Linked DNA regions of Homo sapiens: region 1 is linked to region 2. Evidence: promoter capture Hi-C in 16 types of primary human blood cells and fetal thymus (Javierre and others, 2016). All regions are on one chromosome and are shown on one strand. Each heading gives the region's core, a stretch centred on a gene start or on the middle of the fragment in contact. The rest is flanking DNA. Distances are from core to core; before and after follow the strand shown.

What was found. Contacts are between HindIII fragments. The CHiCAGO score rates a contact against its expected background, and 5 or more counts as called.
Region 1: a contact is called between a fragment that was not itself captured here and the fragment with the promoter of LACRT in region 2, in 1 of 17 cell types (activated CD4 T cells). The highest score is 7.4, in activated CD4 T cells.

Annotation. Positions count from the first base shown.
Region 1 is chr12:55,156,481-55,162,064 of GRCh38, reverse strand. It overlaps the pseudogene OR9R1P. Among named protein-coding and RNA genes, the nearest start is that of OR9K2, 33 kb to the right of the region's middle. The HindIII fragment of the contact is 1,608 bases long and covers 2,796-4,403 here.
Region 2 is chr12:54,633,280-54,638,681 of GRCh38, reverse strand. It overlaps LACRT (lacritin), which reads left to right and starts at 3,787. Exons shown (of 5, transcript NM_033277.2): 1 at 3,787-3,898. The coding sequence starts at 3,841. The HindIII fragment of the contact is 2,380 bases long and covers 2,990-5,369 here.

The DNA.
Region 1 (5,584 bases), core at 2,350-4,849, 520 kb before region 2:
ACACGTATGTTTATTGCGGCATTATTCACAATAGCAAAGACTTGGAACCAACCCAAATGTCCAACAATGATAGACTGGATTAAGAAAATGTGGCACATATACACCATGGAATACTATGCAGCCATAAAAAATGATGAGTTCATGTCCTTTGTAGGGACATGGATGAAATTGGAAATCATCATTCTCAGTAAACTATCGCAAGAACAAAAAACCAAACACCGCATATTCTCACTGATAGGTGGCAACTGAACAATGAGAACACATGGACACAGGAAGGGGAACATCACACCCTGGGGACTGTTGTGGCGTGGGGGGAGGCGGGAGGGATAGCATTGGGAGACATACCTAATGCTAGATGACGAGTTAGTGGGTGCAGTGCACCAGCATGGCACATGTATACATATGTAACCTGCACATTGTGCACATGTACCCTAAAACTTAAAGTATATTAATAAAAAATAAATAAATAAATAAATAAAAGAAAAATCAACAATAAAAAGTTATTGTCTAAATAAAACAACTATATTGAAATAAGAAACCTTAACTAAATAATCCATAGGTGAAAATGAACATTAAAATTAACAAAATGTTATATATACAATAATAAAAATTAAAATAAATTACACTGAAAACTATTCAAAACTTTTAAACATAATTCATTAAATTAAAAACTGTAAATAAGATACTAAGCATTTAACGTTTAAATGCAGAAAAAAGATGGCTAATAAAACAAAAACTCTTAGAAACATAAAATAATTACATGAATGTACAGATACATATGCAGATATAATAACTTTAATGTTTGTATTAATATAATTATGATGTTATATGTTGCAATTTTGAATGTATTTAAGCAAAACAAAACAAAAACAAAAACTTATGCAATAACTAGATATTACACCATCAACTACTTTGAAAATAATGATATAGAACTCAAAATTCTAATGGTATAAAGTCAAACCACTGGCAAATTTAATTAAGGGACAAAAATAAAATTCTCAGGATTAAAAATAAAAAGTATATATAACCAAAGACATAGAAAGGATTAAATTATTAGAAAATAAAATTTAGGATATTAATATTTTCTTTTATTATGTCAATTAAAATTTATGATTTGGTTATTTGGCTTTACTATGTTAATATTTTTATTATTAATCTGAGAAAATATTTTACACATGGTAATAATTGTTCAAATCTAGAATAAAATAAAAATTTTCAAATCAATATATAAATTATAAAAGTGATGCAAGAACATACATAAAAGTTAATAGATCAATAAGCATAAATTATACTGATTATTTATCAAACATTTATTATTGAACCCCATGACAAGATAGTTTTACCGCAACTATATCACATTTATTTATTTATTTACTTATTTTTCTTCTGGATGAAATCATTAATATAGGTGGATGCTTTAGCAATATTACTGGTATAATATTTAGCCTTGCTCCTTTGCATAATGGTTTGGCAAAGCCAATAATTTACATTATATAATTTAGATTACCATAGCATTTCTAATTCTCATTTGCAAAAGTTGTACAATAGCCAACTTGATTATGATCTAGATTAAACAAATATTGAAGAACGTTAAGTAGTGTCTCTCTTTTTCCCTCTCCAATAGATTAGTATATAGATATTCATACATATATAGATATATTAATAAACTTAACGTGTATTTATGTATTAATTTGTGAATACTGTATTTCAGTTGCAGTTTTGAGTACAACTAAGACAATGAAGCAAGAATAACAAACTATGGAATACCTAGACAGCACACCATAAAATAATTATGTTGAAATATGAAAAATCTATATTGATTTTTAGTTCCTTTTGTTTTGTTTTTTTTTTTTGAGATGGAGTCTCGCTCTGTTGCCAGGGTGGAGTGCAGTGCCACGATCTCGGCTCACTGCAACCTCCGCCTCCTGGGTTCAAGTGATTCTCCTGCCTCAGCCTCCCGAGTAGCTGGGACTGCAGGTGCGTGCCACCACGCCCAGCTAATTTTTTGTATTTTTAGTAGAGACGCGGTTTCACCATGTTGGCCAGGATGGTCTCGATCTCCTGACCTCATGATCCACCCCCCTCGGTCTCCCTAAGTGCTGGGATTACAGGTTTGAGCCACCACGCCTGGCCTTTAATTCATTTTTAAAAGGATCTGTTGATGGTCAAAACACGAAAATAAACTTTCATCTCCATACTTTCAGATGTTTTTCTTTGAAATTATTCTATAATAAATTACTGATAGTATTGCTCTTAGTTGCTTCTATAGTTTTATAGATGGCTAGAGGCCAATGAAAAGATATTTTTCTTATCAATGTCCTTTTCAAAGCATTTTGCACCTATTTCTTAGACTATAAATCAGATATTTAACATAGGGATGACAAGAGTTTAGAATACAACTATAACCTTGCTCTTTGGAGATGGCCCCAGGTTGGGCATACATGAAGAATACAGTTCCATAGAATAAACTCACCACAGTGATGTGAGAGCTGCAAGTGGAGAAAGTCTTCCTTCTGCCGTGGGTTGAGAGAATCTTCAGGACAGTGGAGAGGATATGCACATAGGAAGCCAGAATGACAGTTGTGGTGGTGGTGATGAGAGCAGAGAGAATAAACAGTACTACCTCATTCACAAGGATGTCAATACATGAGATCTTGATCATGACTGAGACATCACAGAAAAAGTGCTCTAATCTGTTTTCTCCACAGAAATGCAAACTGAAGGTAAAACCTGTTTGTATCATGGAGTTGATGCATCCACAGATAGAGGAGCCAACCACCAAACAAACACAAGCTTGCTGAGACATACATACAGTATAGAAGAAAGGTGAACAAATAGCTGAGAAGCGATCATATGCCATCATATCCAGAAAAAAACCTTCAGTCCCAACAAAGAGAGCAAAGAAAAACAACTGTGTTGCTCAACCATTGTAAGAAATTTTCTTTTCCTTGGAAAATAAAGTAGTCAGTTTTGGAAGCAATAACTGTGGAGTAGCGGAGATCCAAATAGGACAAATTTCTGAGAAAGAAATACACAGGTGTGTGAAGTCTGGAGTCTATTTCAATGACAACTAACATGCTGAGATTTCTCAACACAATGACCATGTAGATAAGCAAGAACAGGAAGAATAAGAGAATCTGTGCTTCTGGCGATGTTCTGAATCCCAGCAGAATAAACTCTGTCACCTCTGAGTAATTCCTGTTCAGTTCGCTCTTCATAGCCAAGACCTATCTGAGAAAAATGAGTGGATTATAATGAAGCCTGGTCAACTTTTGGTCCCTGAAGTTGCCAACGGGAAAAAACAGACAAAAAAACGCTGATACAAATTGGAGTTTTCTTGGCAGTGCATCTGATAGAATAGTTTTACATTTAGAAGCAACCACAGTAAAATCAAAATAAGGTTATTTAGGTTTTTCCCGTCTATTTAGTTTTAGTATTATGTGAGAAATTTGAATGGGCACGGGATATTTCCAGCAGTAAATTATCAGTCATTTTATGCTGTTTGTGAAGAGCTTTGGAGTCATATGGGCTGCATCCAAATTTTACATCTTTCAGTATGAAAGAATCTAAGATAACCATCTACACTTTTGATACCTCAGAAGTCCTCCTCTGCCAAATGGGAGGCACCTGTGAAGATTACACAAAATTGAGTGTGAAAAGCAATATTTATAATGACACAAACATCTTAAAAACATACACGTCAGTGAAATAAATAAAAAAACAAACACAAAGTTTCTTGTGCTCTAAGAATGGAAAACTGAGTGAAAACATAGGTCAATTCCTTTCCCCACTACAAGATAATTAATGCAGTTAATTTGGTTCTTAAAACATTCTGCTACATAGAAGACATTAGGAAACATGGGGTTATAGTTTAATGAGGTAGAATGAACCACTAGTCTTGAGAATGTCATTCAAAATAATAAATCAGACTCTTATCCCCTACATTAACCACATATTGTTCAGCTTCCAGGTCCTTCATTTACTATTAGTGTCTGAATGCTGGTGGCTCCCTTTTCTGGCACCCAAACTGCAGCATGCCTTTTCTTTTTACTGCCATAGACATATGAATTATTTTGTTTATATAGGAACACTATGGTTAGGTATAAGATTAACTTCCCCAACAAGAAATGTTTTCCCCTCTATATATTGTTAACAAAGCACAAGACAATAATGCAAATAAGTGTGGGGGGAGGGGGTGGAAATTCTGTATTGCATGGGTTCTGTTTTTTGTATTTTTCTAACTATTAATGCTTAATAGTAAATACTAAAGAGGCACAGAGATAAAACATTAATAATTTTTAAGATATCTAAAACATTAAATTAAAGTGGAAAAAATAAATTTTATATTATAAATCAATGGTTTTATTACTACATTTAATTTCTGAATTAGCAAAAGAGAAGCTTTTTCTGTCTAGAAACTTAATATATTTGAAGTTACATAGTTTTATTTAGAAATTTTCATAAAATTGAGGAGCCAAGATGGCGGAATAGGAACAGCTCCGGTCTACAGCTCCCAGCGTGAGCAACGCAGAAGAGGGGTGATTTCTGCATTTCCAACTGAGGTACTGGGTTCATCTCACAGGGGAGTGCCAGACAGTAGGTGCAGGACAGTGGGTGCAGCGCACCATGCGTGAGCCGAAGCAGGGCGATGTATCGCCTCACCTGGGAAGCGAAAGGGGTCAGGGAATTCCCTTTCCTAGTCAAAGAAAGGGGTGACAGATGGCACCTGGAGAATTGGGTCACTCCCACCCTAATACTGTGCTTTTCCAACAGGCTTAAAAAATGGCACACCAGGAGATTATATCCCGCACATGGCTTGGAGGGTCCTACGCCCACAGAGTCTCACTCATTGCTAGCACAGCAGTCCCAGATCAAACTGCAAGGTGGCAGCCAGGCTGTGGGAGGGGCGCCCACCATTGCCAAGTTAGTTGTTTGATTAGGTAAACAAAGCAGCCTGGAAGCTCGAACTGGGTGGAGCCCACCACAGCTCAAGGAGGCCTGCCTGCTTCTGTAGGCTCCACCTCTCAGGGCAGGGCGCAGACAAACAAAAAGACAGCAGTAACCTCTGCAGACTTAAATGTACCTCTCTGACAGCTTTGAAGAGAGTAGTGGTTCTCCCAGCATGCAGCTTGAGATCTGAGAACAGGCAGACTGCCTCCTCAAGTGGGTCCCTGAACCCCGAGTAGCCTAACTGGGAGGCACCCCCCAGTAGGGGCGGACTGACACCTCACACAGCCAGGTACTCCTCTGAGACAAAACTTCCAGAGGAATGATGAGACAGCAGCATTTGCAGTTCACCAATATATGCTGTTCTACAGCCACCGCTGCTGATACCCAGGCAAACAGGGTCTGGAGTGGACCTCTAGCAAACTCCAACAGACCTGCAGCTGAGGGTCCTGTCTGTTAGAAGGAAAACTAACAAACAGAAAGGACATCCACACCAAAAACCCATGTGTACGTCACCATCATCAAAGACCAAAGGTAGATAAAACCACAAAGATGGGAAAAACACAGAGCAGAAAAACTGGAAACTCTAAAAATCAGAGCACCTCTCCTCCTCCAAAGGAACGCAGCTCCTCACCAG
Region 2 (5,402 bases), core at 2,538-5,037:
TGGTAGTTTCTTTTGCTGTGCAGAAGCTCTTTAGTTTAATTAGATCCCATTTGTCTATTTTGGCTTTTGTTGCCATTGCTTTTGGTGTTTTAGTCATGAAGTACTTGCCCATGCCTATGTCCTGAATGGTATTGCCCAGGTTTTCTTCTAGGGTTTTTATGGTTTTAGGTCTAACATTTAAGTCTTTAATCTATCTTGAATTAATTTTTGTATAAGGTGTAAGGAAGGGATCCAGTTTCAGCTTTCTACATATGGCTAGCCAGTTTTCCCAGCACCATTTATTAAATAAGGAATCCTTTCCCCATTTCTTGTTTTTGTCAGGTTTGTCAAAGATCAGATGGTTGTAGATGTGTGGTGTTATTTCTGAGGCCTCTGTTCTGTTCCATTGGTCTATATCTGTTTTGGCACCAGTACCATGCTGTTTTGGTTACTGTAAGCTTGTAGTATAGTTTGAAGTCAGGTAATGTGATGCCTCCAGCTTTGTTCTTTTTGCTTAGGATTGTCTTGGCAATGCAGGCCCTTTTTTGGTTCCATATGAACTTTAAAGTAGTTTTTTCCACTTCTGTGAAGAAAGTCATTGGTAGCTTGATGGGGATGGCATTGAATCTCTAAATTACCTTGGGCAGTATGGCCATTTTCACGATATTGATTCTTCCTATCCAAGAGCATGGAATGTTCTTCCATTTGTTTGTGTCCTCTTATTTCATTGAGCAGTGGTTTGTGGTTCTCAGGAGGGCTTTTTTTAAAAAAGGTTCTTTAAGGAAAAATGTATCTATTATTTACAGAGATTCAAGTATGGACTAGCAACAGCAGGAAGTCTGAAGCAGCGTGTTGGGGGGTGGGGGTGAATAATGTCACCTGACAACAAGAGATGGCGCTCTGAAACAGGGACCAGACAGAAGCTGCAGTCAGAGAGAAACAGCCATTGCCACACCATGCTGCATTAAGTATCCGTGGCTGTAAAAATTATTCAAACATTTGGTGGCTTCACACATGATTTCTTATCCACAGTTGTTATGGATCAGCAGTCCAGGTACAGATGCGCCCTCAGACACAGAGTCTCTAATGAGGCTGCAGTCAAGGTATCATCGAGGCTGCGGTCACCTCAAAACTCAGCTGAGGAAAGACCCACTTCCAAGCTCAGTCACGTGGTAGCTGGCAGGGTTGAGTTCCTCACAGATAGCTGGACTAAGGGCCTCGGCTCCTTACTGGCTACAGGCTGGAGGCTGTCCTCGGTTTCTTGCCACGTAGGTCTCTCCACAGGACAGCCTCACACATGGCCACTCACTTCATCAGAGCAAGCTGAGAAGATCCAGAGACAGAGTGTGTGTAAACAAGACTAAAGTCATAGTCTCAGAACTGACTACCTCATCACTTTGCCATCTTCTATTTGTTAGGAGTGAATCTCGAGACCCAGCCCAGTTAAGCAGAGGAAATTACAGCAGGGCACCAATGCCAAGACGTAGGCATCACCAGGAGCTATCTCTGAAGTCGTCCTACCACACATGCCAAAGCAAGAGAGGGAGCAGGAGGAACAAATGCCTTAATCTCTCCCTTTTCCCACCCTCCCATCTCCCACCTGTGTCTCCCATTGGCCAAACTCAACTCGAAGCTAGAGGGCATGGGAGCCCAGGTGATACAGCCCATAGAGGCATCCTTCCAGACCAGTGCAGAGATGAGAGAGAATAAACCTGAGGCAGAGGGGAGAGAGGTACAACGAGCAGCCCATGAGACAAGACACAGATCAGCGAACTGACAGTCATCATGGAGGTCAGATAACCTAGAAAACAAGACATCACACAGAGCAGCCCCTCACCCATATCCATGAGGTCCGTCAAGACATTGCACAGAGCAGCCTCTCACCCATATCCATGAGGTCTGCCTCTTTAATCTATGCACCCAATTCTTTCCCAGGCTCTATAATTTGGGGTAACATTTCTCTGGGCCCTGTTATAGAATAATGAAAATTTTCTATAAAACAAATGTCCTTACTTTCACCTCATCCCTATTTATGTAAATGCTTGCCTCTTTAATTACTGAGGCCAGGAGGAAGATTTGGGAGAGGAAAGGGCTATGCGGTGACATTTGGAAAGACCCTGCTCTGTGACAGTTCTAGTGTTGACGCCAAAGTTCTCATTTCCTCTTAGAAAAGTCTTGTGCAAATAGCATAATTTGCTCCTGTTGACTTTTTTAATGTGCTCATGGAGACTGCTCGGGATCTAGATCTGTTTGGGATCTGCAGGACTTCTCCTTCTGCAGTGTACACACACGTGCACACACGTATGTGCACATACCCAGGGCACTGGTGCCATCAAAACTTTCTCTTGTTCTTCAGCCTTCCCCATTCCAGGTAAGGCCACCACCACCTTCAAGGCTCCCAGGCCCAGACCCTCAGGCAGGTAGCAATTGCCAAGGCTTTAATGTCCCACCCCATTAATTTTATCTTCCTTTATCTCCTGAAAAGATTAATGTTCTAAACCCTGGCACCCAAAACACCCTCATGTTGAAAACTCTTCAATACCCCCTTCTCACACTCATCTTCAGAGCTACCATGAGGCAGAGAAGCCTCCGGAATCAGCCCACATGGGGCTGGGTGAATGCCAACACCAAGCAAGGGGAAAGTCACAAATTGACATCCAGCACCTTATTCTCCACCCTTCAGCCCCTCAACTGACTCCTGCTCCACGGCCCGTTCTATTAATATCTAGCATTTAGCACCAGCCTGGACAAAAACCTACTTGGAAAGATGGTACAAGAACCCCACACAACTCCATAGAACTTCGCTGTCTAAAAAAATGCTTTGCCGTATATTATCCCACTTAATCTCCACCACTATGCTGTACATAGGAGCCACAACTCCTAGACAACAAATAAAAATCCTATCACTTTTCAAATCCTAACATTTTCATATGACAAAGCCAGAACTCAAAATCCAGACCTCTAGAGTCCCAGATCAGGAAAGGAAGAAACGCCAAGTCAAAGAGAAGCTTCTTTAGAATAATCTGCTTTTCTGGATTATTCACACCATGGGTCAGCTCCCCACTTGAAGTCAGAACCAAGCTCCAATTTCAGTGAACCACCATCATGCTTTGACCAGGAGATTCTCTCAGAAATGTGGGGTCCCATTGAGTAGGCCTGAAGACAGAGATTGACAGGCCTATGTGAGCCTGGAGGAGTTCTTTTTAGGGGCTGGATAATGTCAAGAACAGAGAACAACTCCAGAGAAGGCACACACGCCTTCAAACCCATCCCCTCATGGGGAGAAAGCAGCCAGGAACTCAGGCCTCAAGTGTTCTAGGTGTGGTCTCCCAAGGAAACGGGCTCACTTAGTTTGGGGAAACCTTCAAACCCTGCACTGAGTCCTATGTAGACTGGGACAGAAGGTGGACAATGTAATCCCCTGAGCCCTCAACCTCCTCCTGGAGAGATGACAAGATTAAGATTTCTCTACCAGAACCCTCAACAGACACATCCCAGAATCTCCCCAAGTGAAATGTGCTCTACCTACCGTCCCTGAGAGCCCAGGGGTGTGAACCCAGAGGGCAGGTGTGGTGGGGAAGGGAGGAGGGAGAAAGAAAAGGGATGGCTGGGAGTTAGAGAAAGGCTCCTATCCAGGACCTGCCTGCAAGGATCCCAGGTATCAGCCAGCCCAACCTAGCCCTTGTTGACTTAGCAGGTGACAGTTTGGGGAAGAAGGGGAGGAGGATGCGGAAGTCACACCTCTCCAGGCTTGGTTCCCATTGGCCCTTGATATCCTTAAAAGGGCCCAGCAATTTCAGCATCCTTATTCCCCAGACCTTCTGCAGATTCTGTGGTTATACTCACTCCTCATCCCAAAGAATGAAATTTACCACTCTCCTCTTCTTGGCAGCTGTAGCAGGGGCCCTGGTCTATGCTGGTGAGTATGGCCTTTCCTCTGCGCCCCACAAGAGTCCTCCCAGTCCAAGGAGCCCCTCACTCCTGCCTTCACCCCTCTCCTCCTCTCTCAGTGCTATTCTGGTTTCCCTGCCTCTGCAAGTGACTCCTCTCCCAGTTCTCCACACGTGGCCTCTGCACCCCACTGGCCAGAGGAACCCAGAACTCTCTGGCCTCTGCCTGCCCTCCCAGCTCATCTCCTCACACACCATTGTTTACCCACTATGCCTCAGCTACACTGGCTTCTCTGGTGTCCCCTGCATGTAGTTGAGCAGGGTGTCCCCTACACGAGGGTGCCCAGGCAAGGAGTGGTAGAAGCTAAAATCTGGCCGACACTCTACTTGCCAAGCAGTGAGCCTGGCCCCTGGCTGTGTCTCTTAGGAGGAAGGGATGCCTTTTTTTTTTTTTTTTTTTTGAGACCGAGTCTCCCTCTGTTGCCCAGGCTGGAGTGCAGTGGCACGATCTCTGCTCACTGCAACATCCACCTCCTGGGTTCCAGCGATTATCTTGCCTCAGCCTCCTGGGTAGCTGGGACTACAGGCTCATGCCACCTTGCCCAGCTAATTTTGTATTTTTAGTAGAGACGGTGTTTCACCATGTTGGCCAGGTTGGTCTCGAACTCCTGACCTCAGGTGATCCGACTGCCTTGGCCTCCCAAAGTGTTGGAATTACAGGCGTGAGCCACCGTGCCCTGCTGGGATGCCTTTTTTGATCCACAGAAGCACTATTTGGGCCATGATGATCCTGCTGTTCCTTGAACATCAGGATCTTCCTTCTTGTCCTTTCCTCGTCTAGAATGCTTTCCCTCTCCCTGGCCCCTTCCCCCAACCAACTCTAATGTCACCTGGCCAATGATTTTTCATCTAGAAAATCTCAGTTTACATATAATTCCCCAAAAAGGCCTTCCATGCACATGCGGAACAAATCAGATCCATGTGCCCTTCTCGCACCAGGCTGCACGTTCCCTTCCAGCACTGTCACACCAGCCATTAAATAATTTCGTAAAAGGACAGATGTAAGCTCTGTCAGGGCAGGGGTCTTGTCTGCCCTCTTCAGCACTGCACCTCCATCTCTTGGCACAGAGCTTTGCATAAATGTTGTGTTGAAAGAATAAAGGGAATCAAGGCTGGGGTCTCAATCCTGCAAATCGCTCAAATATGGCCCCATAACCCCCACATACTGTCCTCCTCCACCACAGAGGAGGTTGAGCCCCTCTGACCATGGCCAGCTCCATGACAGACACCTCAGGGAAGCCTACCAAGCCAGGGGCCAGTCAGGAGGAAGGCACTGTTCCAAGAGACATTACACTTCTCAGAGGGGAAGTTATTTCAAAAGCCACAGGAGTTAAACATCAGAGAGTGCCCCAGTAGACCCGCTGATATGGTGGAAGGGCATGTCCAACCCAAAGGGAAATTGATCCCCTTCTATCCATGAGCATTCCCAGGAGATAAGCTTTGGGAATGGGAGGGGAGGGTGGCTCGAGTAGG